2 separate regions of the Homo sapiens genome follow, and region 1 is linked to region 2. The links are contacts of gene promoters, found by promoter capture Hi-C in human tissues and cell types (Jung and others, 2019). All regions are on one chromosome and are shown on one strand. Each heading gives the region's core, a stretch centred on a gene start or on the middle of the fragment in contact. The rest is flanking DNA. Distances are from core to core; before and after follow the strand shown.

What was found. The method cuts DNA at HindIII sites, captures the fragments that hold promoters and counts their contacts. A contact is called where the count stands out against the background at its distance.
Region 1: a contact is called between the fragment with the promoter of WNT10B here and a fragment that was not itself captured in region 2, in 1 of the 25 tissues and cell types used here (heart left ventricle).

Annotation. Positions count from the first base shown.
Region 1 is chr12:48,968,220-48,974,355 of GRCh38, reverse strand. WNT10B (Wnt family member 10B) reads left to right here and starts at 2,621. Exons shown (of 5, transcript NM_003394.4): 1 at 2,621-2,901; 2 at 3,787-3,900; 3 at 4,005-4,267; 4 at 6,037-6,136. The coding sequence starts at 3,827. RefSeq lists silencers at 2,556-2,850, 4,318-4,397 and an enhancer at 5,863-6,136. The HindIII fragment of the contact is 13,431 bases long and covers 1-6,136 here.
Region 2 is chr12:49,271,194-49,276,631 of GRCh38, reverse strand. TUBA1C (tubulin alpha 1c) reads right to left here. Exons shown (of 4, transcript NM_032704.5): 4 at 2,032-4,379. The coding sequence ends at 3,405. Among named protein-coding and RNA genes, the nearest start is that of TUBA1C, 8.8 kb to the right of the region's middle. RefSeq lists a silencer at 2,352-2,646. The HindIII fragment of the contact is 6,713 bases long and covers 176-5,438 here.

The DNA.
Region 1 (6,136 bases), core at 1,372-3,871, 300 kb after region 2:
TCCCATGGATTTGTTGGAGTGGACTGCTGAAAGTGGGGCCTTCCTGAGAGTCCAGTATGCAGTCGGCCCGCAGACCCTTTGGTGCCTCCAGGTGGTGGCCTACGGTGCTGCAGCAGAAGGCGCATTAAGCGGAGGGTGGGCAGCGCAGCTGAGCTCACCGCCACGGGCGCATCCATCCCTCCTGGGCCTATAATTTGGGTTCCCCGGGTCTGGCCTCCCCTATCAGCGGCTCAGCAACAGATGAGTCACCCGGGACCCCGGGCCAAGGCAAACATGGGGGGAGGAGGAGGAGGAGGCTTCTGAGGCTTTAGCCACCGCCTCAGTTGCTCGACATCCCCCAATCTCCAGGGGCCCCCACTCTTTTCTTTGACCCCCGCCCTCCAGGGCCCCAGTGTTCTTCCCACATTGCTCTCGTTACACCCTCCATCCCTAGGATGGGAAGGGCAGCCCTCCACTCTTCTCATTGAGGGGAAGGGGAACCAGCTTGCTCCTAGTCCCTCCCTGCAGTGATGAAAGCCCCCCACTTTCCCCCTCCTGTCATTGGCCCTGACCCACGTCAAGGTCTCTCTGGTTCCCGTCCCTCCCCTTTCTTGGAGCTGGCCGCGTGCTTGGGGTATTAGGCAATGGGTGTGCACCCACAGCCCTCTCCAGGCCCCGCCTGTCCCACCGCCCTCTAGCCGCCTGCGGGTCAGTGCTCAGGCCAGCCGGTCGGGCTGAGGGCACTGCGGGCCAGCTCAGGCCACCCAGTCTGCCGGCCTGTGGCCTCTTGTCCCAGAGTTGGGCTTCAGTAGAGAGAAGGAGCAGGACTCTGGGTCCTTGGATTTGGAACAGTCCTGCTTGGGGAGACCTAGGGTCACCAGGAAGTTGAAACCTATTGTAGTAGTTCTGCCCCTCGCCCCTTCTTGGCACCTGGCTGTATGCTGGAGCCTGACAAGGGTAGAATCAGAAGGCAAAAAATAATCCCAAACCTAAGGGGGACCCAGAGACACATGGAGAAATACAAATGTCCATGAGGTCCCCATGGAGAAGAGAGGCTTAGGCAACCTCATTCCCCTCTTCCAAGGACCTGGCAGGAATCCCAGGGTGACTGCAAGAAAAAGGATAAGGACACTGGTGGGGATCATGAATCCAGGTGTAAGGATGAAAACTATGAGATGGGGCTTGCAGATTCTGGTGACCTCCAAAACCACACATGGTTTGGCTCTTGTCCTCTAAATGGGAAGGAGGGTCAGGAACTCTAGTGCTCCCACTTCCCCATCCCAGAGGTAGGGAATCAGAGAAAAGCAGTCTGGTCCAGGCTGTCCAGTGTCAGGGACCATGGCACTTTCACCTCCCCAGACTGCTCACAGCCTGGCACGTAAAGGTGATCTGTAAATATCCCAACAGATGTAAGTTTGCTCGATCTCCTGTCTCAGACTGCTGTGCCCGCTATCCAACAGTGACCCCTGCAGCACGGGCAGGACCTCCAGCAGCACAGACTGGAGGCTGGCTGCCCAGCAGAGCTGCAACGCCACCACCAAGGAAGAGGTGACTGTGGTTGTGGGTATCATCCCTGTTCCTCTGCTTGCTTGGGGGCAGTCTGAGTCAATGTGCCTGGGGCGCGTGGGGCCAGCCGTGCCTTGGGCTGCGGTCTGGCAGGGGCGGGGGGCGGCTGGAAAGCCTGGGGCCCCTCTCTGGCAAAAATAGCCCACAGTGGTTAGAGCTTCGAGGGTGAGTCAGGCGGGAGCACGGTGGCGCCTAACCCGTTCGCTGCCACTGGGTCTCCCTAAGGCGGTTTGCCTTTGCCTGTGCACCCCAAGACCAGGCTCTTTCCCGGCTGCCCTTGGGCTTGGCTCAATTTTGGATCCCAAGGCCCTCCTCATCCCATAAGAAGCAAGTCTACAGCTTGGAGCAGGAATCCAGGCCACCCAAAGTGCAGACCGGGGGAATCCCGAGAAGGGTAGGATACCTCTGTTGGCAAGCATCCCTGCCAGGCAAGGAAGCATCGGGGCAGGCTGACAATCTTTGGTGCTACTTGAACCTCTGCTAGGGCCAAACTCTGAGGCCAAAGCTGTCCCCTCCAAAGGGGCAGGCGCAGGGCTTGGAGGAGGGTGGGAACCAAGCTGCCCAGACGTGTGCTTCTCCTGCCCGCTCTGAGTACCCCGGGTGCGCTCAGGCTGTGGGTGCCACATGTGACTGTCCCACACCGAGAAGCCCAAAGACTGTCTGGCTCCATCCTCATCTTGTCAAAGGCACCTTCCAGCCACCCTGATCTTGGTGGAGAAACTGACGCAAAGAGGAGTGATGAAAGATGTGGCCATCTGGGCCCCATTCTGGCTCCCTAGGAAGGTTACTACACCCTCCCTGCAGCCTTGGCGACCCCAGATCAGGTGAGAGGAACTCTGGCCACCTCCTTCTTCAGTGGGGCCAAGCCTGAACCCAGGCGTCGGGGGAGAGGGTGTGTGAGAGAGAGAGAGTGTGTGTGTGTGTGTGTGTGTGTGTGTGTGTGTGTGCGCGCGCGCGCGCGCGCGCGCGCGCTGGGAGGAGGGGGAGGCTGCATTCGCCTGGTCAAGGCTGGGAGTGGAGGGTAGGGTGGGGAAGCCCCAGGCTCGGGGAGGGGCTGCAGCTCCGTCAGCCCGGCAGAGCCACCCTGAGCTCGGTGAGAGCAAAGCCAGAGCCCCCAGTCCTTTGCTCGCCGGCTTGCTAGCTCTCTCGATCACTCCCTCCCTTCCTCCCTCCCTTCCTCCCGGCGGCCGCGGCGGCGCTGGGGAAGCGGTGAAGAGGAGTGGCCCGGCCCTGGAAGAATGCGGCTCTGACAAGGGGACAGAACCCAGCGCAGTCTCCCCACGGTTTAAGCAGCACTAGTGAAGCCCAGGCAACCCAACCGTGCCTGTCTCGGACCCCGCACCCAAACCACTGGAGGTAATTAGACCTGGGAAAGCAGGGAGGGCAGGGACGTGCACACGAGGAAGAGACAGGCACGTGTGTAGTCAGACAGACAGACAGACACGCATCCACCCACAGAAGCACAGAGACGCATAGAGAGCCAGAGATATTGCTAGAGATAAAGACACAGAGAATAAAGGAGTGCCCCCAGATTTAGAATGCAATGAATGTGAGAGCCAAGGGGTGAGGACCAGACGGGCGACTATGGAGGAGGGGAGCTTGTAGTTAGGCAAGGTGGGGGATAGGGAAGAGGACTCAGTCTGTGCCACGGTCCCTTTTAGGAGGGAGCCAGGCTCTCCTCCCCATCTTTCCTGCACCTGGAGCCTCTCCTCTTTCCTTGCTGCTCAGGGAGGGGGCAGTGTGAGTGGGGAACTCATTCTTAGACCTTTCTCATGGAGCCTACTTGCCCTTGATGACACCTGGAGGTGACACCCCCTTAGGTGGTGGGGAACCTCCTCCCTATCCCTCTCCCTAGCCCTGTGAGGGCGGGGAAGCTAGTCGTGGGGCCCTGGAAAAGGGAGCAGTAGGCGAGGTTGTGGAGCAAGTGTTTGTGAGTCTGTGTGTCTGAGTTTGCAAGTGAGTGTGTGTCTGTGTGCCGGGCGTTGTGTCTGATTGGGCAAGGTTCCAGGGGTGCTCGCTTGAGTCCTGAGCTGGGACAACGCCTTGACTCTTCTTCTTTAAGACCTCCAAGCCTCAGGGACTCTGGGAATCAAGGGGTGTTTCTTCTTGTTTTGTTTGAGGAGGAATGAGAAGGGTCAGTAGGGTGGCACCGGTGGGTTAGGAGCCCGAAGAAGGGCGTCACTTGGTTCCCCAAGCGAGCCGCCCTATTCCTGAACCCGCATCAAGTCTCCCGTCCCGCAGGTCCTGATCGATCTGCCCACCGGAGCCTCCGGGCTTCGACATGCTGGAGGAGCCCCGGCCGCGGCCTCCGCCCTCGGGCCTCGCGGGTCTCCTGTTCCTGGCGTTGTGCAGTCGGTGAGCAGTTCCCCTTGTCTCCCAGGCCATAGAAACACCGACCCGGGGTGGGGAGAGTTGGAGGGGTCTGGACCGCAGACCCCAGACGCCTTCTTGGTTCCCAGGGCTCTAAGCAATGAGATTCTGGGCCTGAAGTTGCCTGGCGAGCCGCCGCTGACGGCCAACACCGTGTGCTTGACGCTGTCCGGCCTGAGCAAGCGGCAGCTAGGCCTGTGCCTGCGCAACCCCGACGTGACGGCGTCCGCGCTTCAGGGTCTGCACATCGCGGTCCACGAGTGTCAGCACCAGCTGCGCGACCAGCGCTGGAACTGCTCCGCGCTTGAGGGCGGCGGCCGCCTGCCGCACCACAGCGCCATCCTCAAGCGCGGTGAGCCTGGCTGGGCGGGTCGGCGCTGCCGCGGAGGCTAGGGGGTGGGCGGCAGGGCGAGGCGCGCGGAGGCGGGAAGGGATGGTTTCGCGGCTCCGGGAGGGGCCTCTCCTGGAATTCCCCGCCCCCCCCGGAGCCGCTCTGAGCCAGGTCTGGCCACTCGTCTGGGCCCCTGCGCGCCTAACTTCCACCTGCGTGCTGCCAGCGAGGCAGCTGGGTCCCTGCTCTCCTACCCTAGGGCCCCCCTTTCCTGCCTCCGCTCAGCTTAATCTGGGTTGCACCTGTGAACAAGAGATGCCCCCAGTCCTGGAAGCTTCAAACGCCCCCCTATTCCCTCCACCATTTTCTCTCCCCCCATCTTGGCTGGACAAGCCCAGGCTGGTGTCCCCAGTGTCTCAGCGGGGGTGGGGTGACGCCCCCAACCGTTTAAGGGTTAAATCTGCTCCCCTAATTGCTGGGGTTCCCAGGAGCCAAAGCTGGGAACAAAGACCCTGATGACTTTGAAGCTGGGGAGCCAGTCCCCTCCTCTGTGCTGTGGGGGCTCCAGGTGTTGCTCACCTGAGCAGGTGAAGAACGGCTGGAGAGGCAGAGAACAGGTCACTGCTGGCCTGGTCTGGGAGGCATGGCTGCCTCTCCTGGTTTCCCACTGGAGTTCACTCCCTGAGGTGTAAAGACCCATGGGGGCTCAGCCCAGAGATGGGGGCAGTGCTCTGGGGACTATGGGGTTAATAGGCAGCTGCCATCTGCAGGGGAATTCCCAAGACTTGTGCAAACAGCTTCACCCCTGGAGGGTTGGAGTTAGGGGGATCAGAAGGCTGGCCCAGGAGCCCTAGATCCTGGGGTAGCAGAGGCCTGGTCTCTAAGCGGGTGCTGTCTCTCGTCTTCTCAGGGCTCCGGAGAGCCCCTGCCTAAAATGAAGTGAGGGTCCCCCTCCTTCCCCACAGGGCCTGGTGTAGGGGAAGGCTTGGACACCCAAATGGTGAGCATGTTTATTTAAGTCTGGGAAAGGCTTGGCAGCCTGAGCTTCTGTGACCCCCAAAACATAACAAAGAAGCCAACCTTTTAAGAGGGCCTTAGGGAAAATCACTCCCCAACCTCTCTCCTCCTCTCAGTGTTTTATAGGGTAATAGCAGGTTAGGATAAACATAAAAAGGGCAGTCTTGAAGGGCAAATATAAAACTACATCTTGGGAAGCGGAAGGGCAGCTCCATAGCTCCAGTGCTTTGGGGGTGCTAGGATGGTGGTAGGTAGGTTGGTTAAAAGACTGATTAACCCTGAAGTGAATTTAAAAAAAAAAAAACAAAAAAACAGAACCACAAAGGCTCTGCTCCCACCTCACCCACCCAAGCTCCCTGCAGGGTTGGGGGAATTTCTAAGGCTTTCAGATGTAGAACTCGGTTGTACACATCTTCAAAGACCTCAGGGACTCCCTCTTAGTCATCTCCCGACTCCAGGGGTCTCTCCCTGTGGGCTAGCTCTTTCATCTACACCTGAAAATCACAGACTTACAGAATGAGAATGGGCCTCAGAGATCATCTTGACCCATCGTCTCCTGCCTCCCTTTAGAAATGAAGAATCTGAGGCTCTGTGCTTTTTGTACCCTTCCTTGTCCCATGACTTTCCTCCAAATCACTCAGCTGGTGAATGGCAGGGTCAGGATTCAGTTAGGAATTTCTGGAGTTGGAGGGGGGCTGTTTATTTCTTTCTGCCTCCACACTCTCAGCTGCCTGTCAACCTTACCTCCACCATCACACCCTTCTCATCCCCAGGTTTCCGAGAAAGTGCTTTTTCCTTCTCCATGCTGGCTGCTGGGGTCATGCACGCAGTAGCCACGGCCTGCAGCCTGGGCAAGCTGGTGAGCTGTGGCTG
Region 2 (5,438 bases), core at 2,283-4,782:
TTTATTCCCATCAAGCTTCAGCGGCCTCAGCATCAGCATCAGTCGCAGCTCTGGGTCCAGACTTTCCATTCGTGCTCAAGGGCAGATCAGATGATTGTCAGCCACAAAGCAGTGACCTAGACCTTGGGGTATATTTGTTCTTGCTGCAGGCTAACTTCTATTCACTCTCCCTCCAACGCAGGAGGGGGAAATCATCTTTACAAGGACAAATGCCCCCCCAACCACTGGCACTTTGCTCTTCCAATTCCCCAGGCTTTATTCTACTGGAATATTTCTTCTCAGCTAAACTTTTCTCTCACCTTCTTTCACCCCAGACCTCTGTGGCTGCTTAAAGCTTTCCAACCTTTTTCACATCTTGGCACATGTAGAAAATAATTCATCTGTAAGGTGTACAGAGGTAAATGGAGGGGGCTACTCCTGGCCAGGGTGACTGGCCCCAGGGAGGATGGGTGAGTCAGGCTCTCCAGTTTCCACCATGTCATTCTAAAAGCCGAAGGGATCCTATATGGGCACCCTGAATCCTATTCTCAGGGCACCCTGCTTGGGAAATGCTGGTGTCATGGGGTGTCACACTCGCCTAAGCTTTGTGATTTATCTGCTCCTTTTCATACACGGGTGTCCCATTCCCATTTCCTCCAGTGCTTGCACTATGGCAATCAGCAGATCTCCTGGCCTGGGAAGGTCTCAAAATCCCCTCTGGCAGGCTAGCCAGCGTCTTCAAGGTTCACCTTCATTTCAGGCATCCCACCCCGCTCCCCTGCCCAGGCTGCAGGAAGAACCTGGCTCATCTGAGAAGTAGCAGTGGCTGAATTTGTGCTGGGGTCTTACCTTGCCCCGAAGGACATAAAACTATGGTTGCTCTCGACAAATGCTATATAAAACCATCCAGAGCACATAGTTGAGGCATCTCAGGCTGCAAAAGCATGCTGTGCTATGCACGCAGGTATAATATATACATTTAAAAAAATTTGAGACATAAAAAAAAATTTAAGGGAAAAAAATTTTTTGTCCCTTAGGCTGGAGGGCAGTGGCACGATCTCAGCTCACTGCTACCTCCACCTCCCAGGCTCAAGCAATCCTCCCACTTCAGCCTCTCAAGCAGCTGGGACCACAGACGTGCACCACCATGCCCAGCTAATTGTTTGTATTTTTAGTAGAGATGGGGTTTCACCATATTGCCCAGGCTGGTCTTGAACTCCTAAGCTCAAGTGATCCACCTGCTTCAGCCTCCCAAAGTGCCGGGATTACAGGCGTGAGCCATGGTACCCGGCCAAAAAAATGCTCAAAATAGACAGGGTCTCACCCTCTTGCCCAGGCACTGGTCTCAGACTCTTGGGTTTAAGCAATCCTCTCACCTTGGCCTCCCAGAGTGCTGGGACTGCAGCTGTGAACCCCAGCGCTGGCCTTAAACATGCACATCTTTCAGATGCAATTCTCAGAGCAAAGGGGCTAAAGTGAGCAATGGGTAAGGGATACAAAACACCTTTGGGAAAGAGATGGTAACTGGGTACACATCAGAATAAAGTAAGTCACGGAGGAGAGGTGAGTATGCCTGCAACTCTGCCCCCAGGGCCCATCTGCTACCACTCATTAGGCATTCCCACTCAGGCAAGCACCCAAGCACCAAAACTGATTCCTCCCTTCTGCATGAAGCTTCACCTTTTGGTCATTGTCCTTTCCCATTGCTTAGTTCAACTGAGTACCAGGCACCAAGCTCTCCAGCTACGTATAACACTCATGCCCCTTCACCCGTCTGCCCCCAAGAACCACGGTCCTCCAACAGGTGCTTGGAAAAAAGTCCAAATCAGAGAACTCACCCCTCTCCAATCTTTCCTACACATACATATTACTCCTACTTCAAATAATCTCCATGACATACAATTGGGTCAAATGCCAATACCAGAAAAACCGGTGACTGTTATTTTGTCTGACATTTCCACTTTCTCTAAACAATAACCCCTTTAGTACGAACCATCTTTGCCACTGTAGGTCTTAGCTAAGTATGGAATAAATCAGGATTCCAAGCCCTTCTCGTGTGACTAATACTTTATTAAAGACTGACAGCAATAGTTCTGGCAGTGTGGCTGGGCACTTGAATTTTGGCTCCAGCAGTTACTGTTATCTAACCCTTTGCTACTGTACATGTGGTCACATCAGACCAACAGCATCATTTGGGAGGTTATTAAAAAACGTATCTAGGGGCCAGGTGTAGTGGCTCACTCCTGTAATCCCAGCACTTTGGGAGGCTGAGGCAGGATTGCCTGAGCCCAGGAGTTCAAGGCCAGCCTAAGCAACATGGCAAAACCCCATCTCTACCAAAAAAAAAAAAAAAAAAAAAAAAAAAAATTACAAGAATCAGCCAGGCATGGTGGAACACACCTGTAGTCCTGGCTACTTGGGAGGCTGAGGTGGGAGGATGGCTTAGCCCAGGTCAAGGTGGGGGTGAGCTATGATGGTGCCATTGCACTGCAGCCTGGGAAAGAGACCATCTCAAAGAAAAAAAATTTAAGACGTGTCTGAAGCCTCACCTCAAGCCTATAGAATTAGAACCTGCATTTTGTTTTTAAATTTGAGAGTCAGGGGTCTCCGTCACCCAGGCTGGAATGCAGTGGTGCAATCATGGCTCACTACCTCAACCTCCTTGGGCTCAGGTGGTCCTCCCACCTATAGGCAGGTGCCATCACAGCATGCAAATTTTTGTTTTGGTAGAGATGGGTTTTCACCATGTTGCCCAGGCTGGTCTCGAATTCCTGGGCTCGTGATCCACCCAACTTGGCCTCCCGAAGTGCATGAGCCACCAGGTTGACCCCAAACCTGCATTTTAATATCTACAGGTGATTCACATCCATTTTAGTTAGAGAAGCACTGGCTCAATCTGAACCCGTTTCCTCACTTACAAAATGATTCTATAACCACTTAATTCAGGCCCAAATTAAACAGATAAACCAAGAAGCTGGGCAGTGGCTCATGCCTATAATCAAAACTTTGAGAGGTTGAGGCAGGAGGATCACTTGAAGCCAGTTGAAGACCACCCTGGGCAGCATAGCAAGGCCCCATCTCTACAAGAAATAAAAATAGCTGGGCATGGTGGTGTGCACCTGCAGTCCCCAGCTACTTAGGAGGCTGAAGCAGGAGAATCACATGAGTCCAGGAGCTCGAGGCTGCAATGAGCTATGTATTATCATGCCACTGCACTCCAGCCTGGGTGACAGAGCAAGACCCTCGACTCAGGTGGTTTCATCTACCAGCCTCATACATCCAACTTTAACTGGATCAAGTATTTAAGTCAGCTCGACATTTAAAATGGAAACTTCAATTTTATTAACAATTTACGGCAATAGACATTTACAGAACAAAAATAAGACAGTTCCAAGACAAAGGAGTGTAAAAGTACAGCACACAGGTTAATACTCTTCACCCTCATCCTCTCCGTCAGCACTATCTGCTCCAACCTCCTCATAATCCTTCTCAAGGGCAGCCATGTCCTCACGGGCCTCTGAAAACTCGCCTTCCTCCATCCCCTCACCCACGTACCAGTGAACAAAGGCACGCTTGGCATACATCAGGTCAAACTTGTGGTCCAGGCGAGCCCAGGCCTCGGCAACAGCTGTGGTATTGCTCAGCATGCACACAGCTCTCTGTACCTTGGCCAGGTCTCCGCCAGGCACCACAGTGGGAGGCTGGTAATTAATGCCAACCTTGAAGCCAGTGGGGCACCAATCCACAAACTGGATGGTACGCTTGGTTTTGATGGTGGCAATGGCAGCATTGACATCTTTGGGAACCACGTCACCACGGTATAACAGGCAGCAAGCCATGTATTTACCATGGCGAGGGTCACATTTCACCATCTGGTTGGCTGGCTCAAAGCAAGCATTGGTGATCTCTGCTACAGTAAGCTGTTCGTGGTAGGCTTTCTCAGCAGAGATGACAGGGGCATATGTGGCCAGAGGGAAGTGGATGCGGGGGTAGGGCACCAGGTTGGTCTGGAATTCTGTCAGGTCAACATTCAGGGCTCCATCAAATCTCAGGGAAGCAGTGATGGAGGACACAATCTGGCTAATAAGGCGGTTAAGGTTAGTGTAGGTTGGGCGCTCGATATCGAGGTTTCTACGACAGATGTCATAGATGGCCTCATTGTCTACCATGAAGGCACAATCAGAGTGCTCCAGGGTGGTGTGGGTGGTGAGGATGGAGTTGTAGGGCTCAACTACAGCTGTGGAAACCTGGGGCGCCGGGTAAATGGAGAACTCCAGCTTGGACTTCTTGCCATAATCAACTGAGAGACGTTCCATGAGCAGCGAGGTGAACCCAGAACCAGTTCCCCCACCAAAGCTGTGGAAAACCAAGAAGCCCTGAAGACCGGTGCACTGGTCAGCCTGCAAAATAAAAAAGTTTCATTTTAGTGTTGCGAAAGTTTCATTTAGTGTTCACATTTGGTGAAACCTACAGAGGACTTCTATAAATCTATGGCTACTCCAATTGCAATTTTAAAACTCTTCTGGGCCAGGCGCAGTGGCTCACGCCTGTAATCAACACTTTGGGGGTCCAAGGTGGGAGGACCATTTGCATTTGAGCCCAGGGGTTCAAGACTGATGATCAGGCCACTGCACTCCAGCCTGGATGACAGAGCAGACCCTGTCTCCAAAAAAAAAAAAAAGCTTTTAAGTGCTAAGTGATTCAGAACAACTTTTCACAATCAAGTCCTTGAGCAGAAAAACCTTTGCTAAGACTATTTTAAGATGAACTATTGCCTTAGGCAGAGGAATCACAAGGCCTGGGCTTGCATACAGGGCTCAAGTTTTGGTAACTGGGAAGGCAGCCTCTGGTTCTCTTGCTGTGGCCACAGAACAGGGCAGTTTCTTAGTTGGAGAGGTCCTAAGGGGCAGGCCCAGGACCACCAGCCTGGTACAGTGGATGTCTTGTAAAGATTTGGCAGCTGCTTTCTGAGGTGGAACAACAGAATAGCCAAAGTTCTAACACCCTGGTACTGGAGTCAGGCTGTGTCAGGATCCGGCTGTACCAGTTCCTTACTGTATGACCACATTCATTTCTCAGTTCTTCCACTGATTAAGTGAGAATAGTAATCACCTTAGGTTGAGAATTAAGTAAGTACTCAGCATAGTGCTTGGCACAGTAAGCACAGTATTGGCCCAGTAAGCCAATATATGACACTAGGTACCAAGAAGCCCATTTATTTTGGGTAAAGTGACACAACCACAATTCCATGAGACCTCAGGTTGTTGGGGATTTCCTCCACCTAACTGGGCTATTTTGGTTAGCAAACTGCTACTTTACGAAGGAATGATTTTGACCTTCCAAATAAAGTATTCTGTTGTAAACTCTTGCTTCTCCAAGTGATGGGCCTCAGATTTGTGAACATTCTCTACTCAGCTCCCTTATAGCCTGTGGGTCCATCAACTACATGAGATCAATGC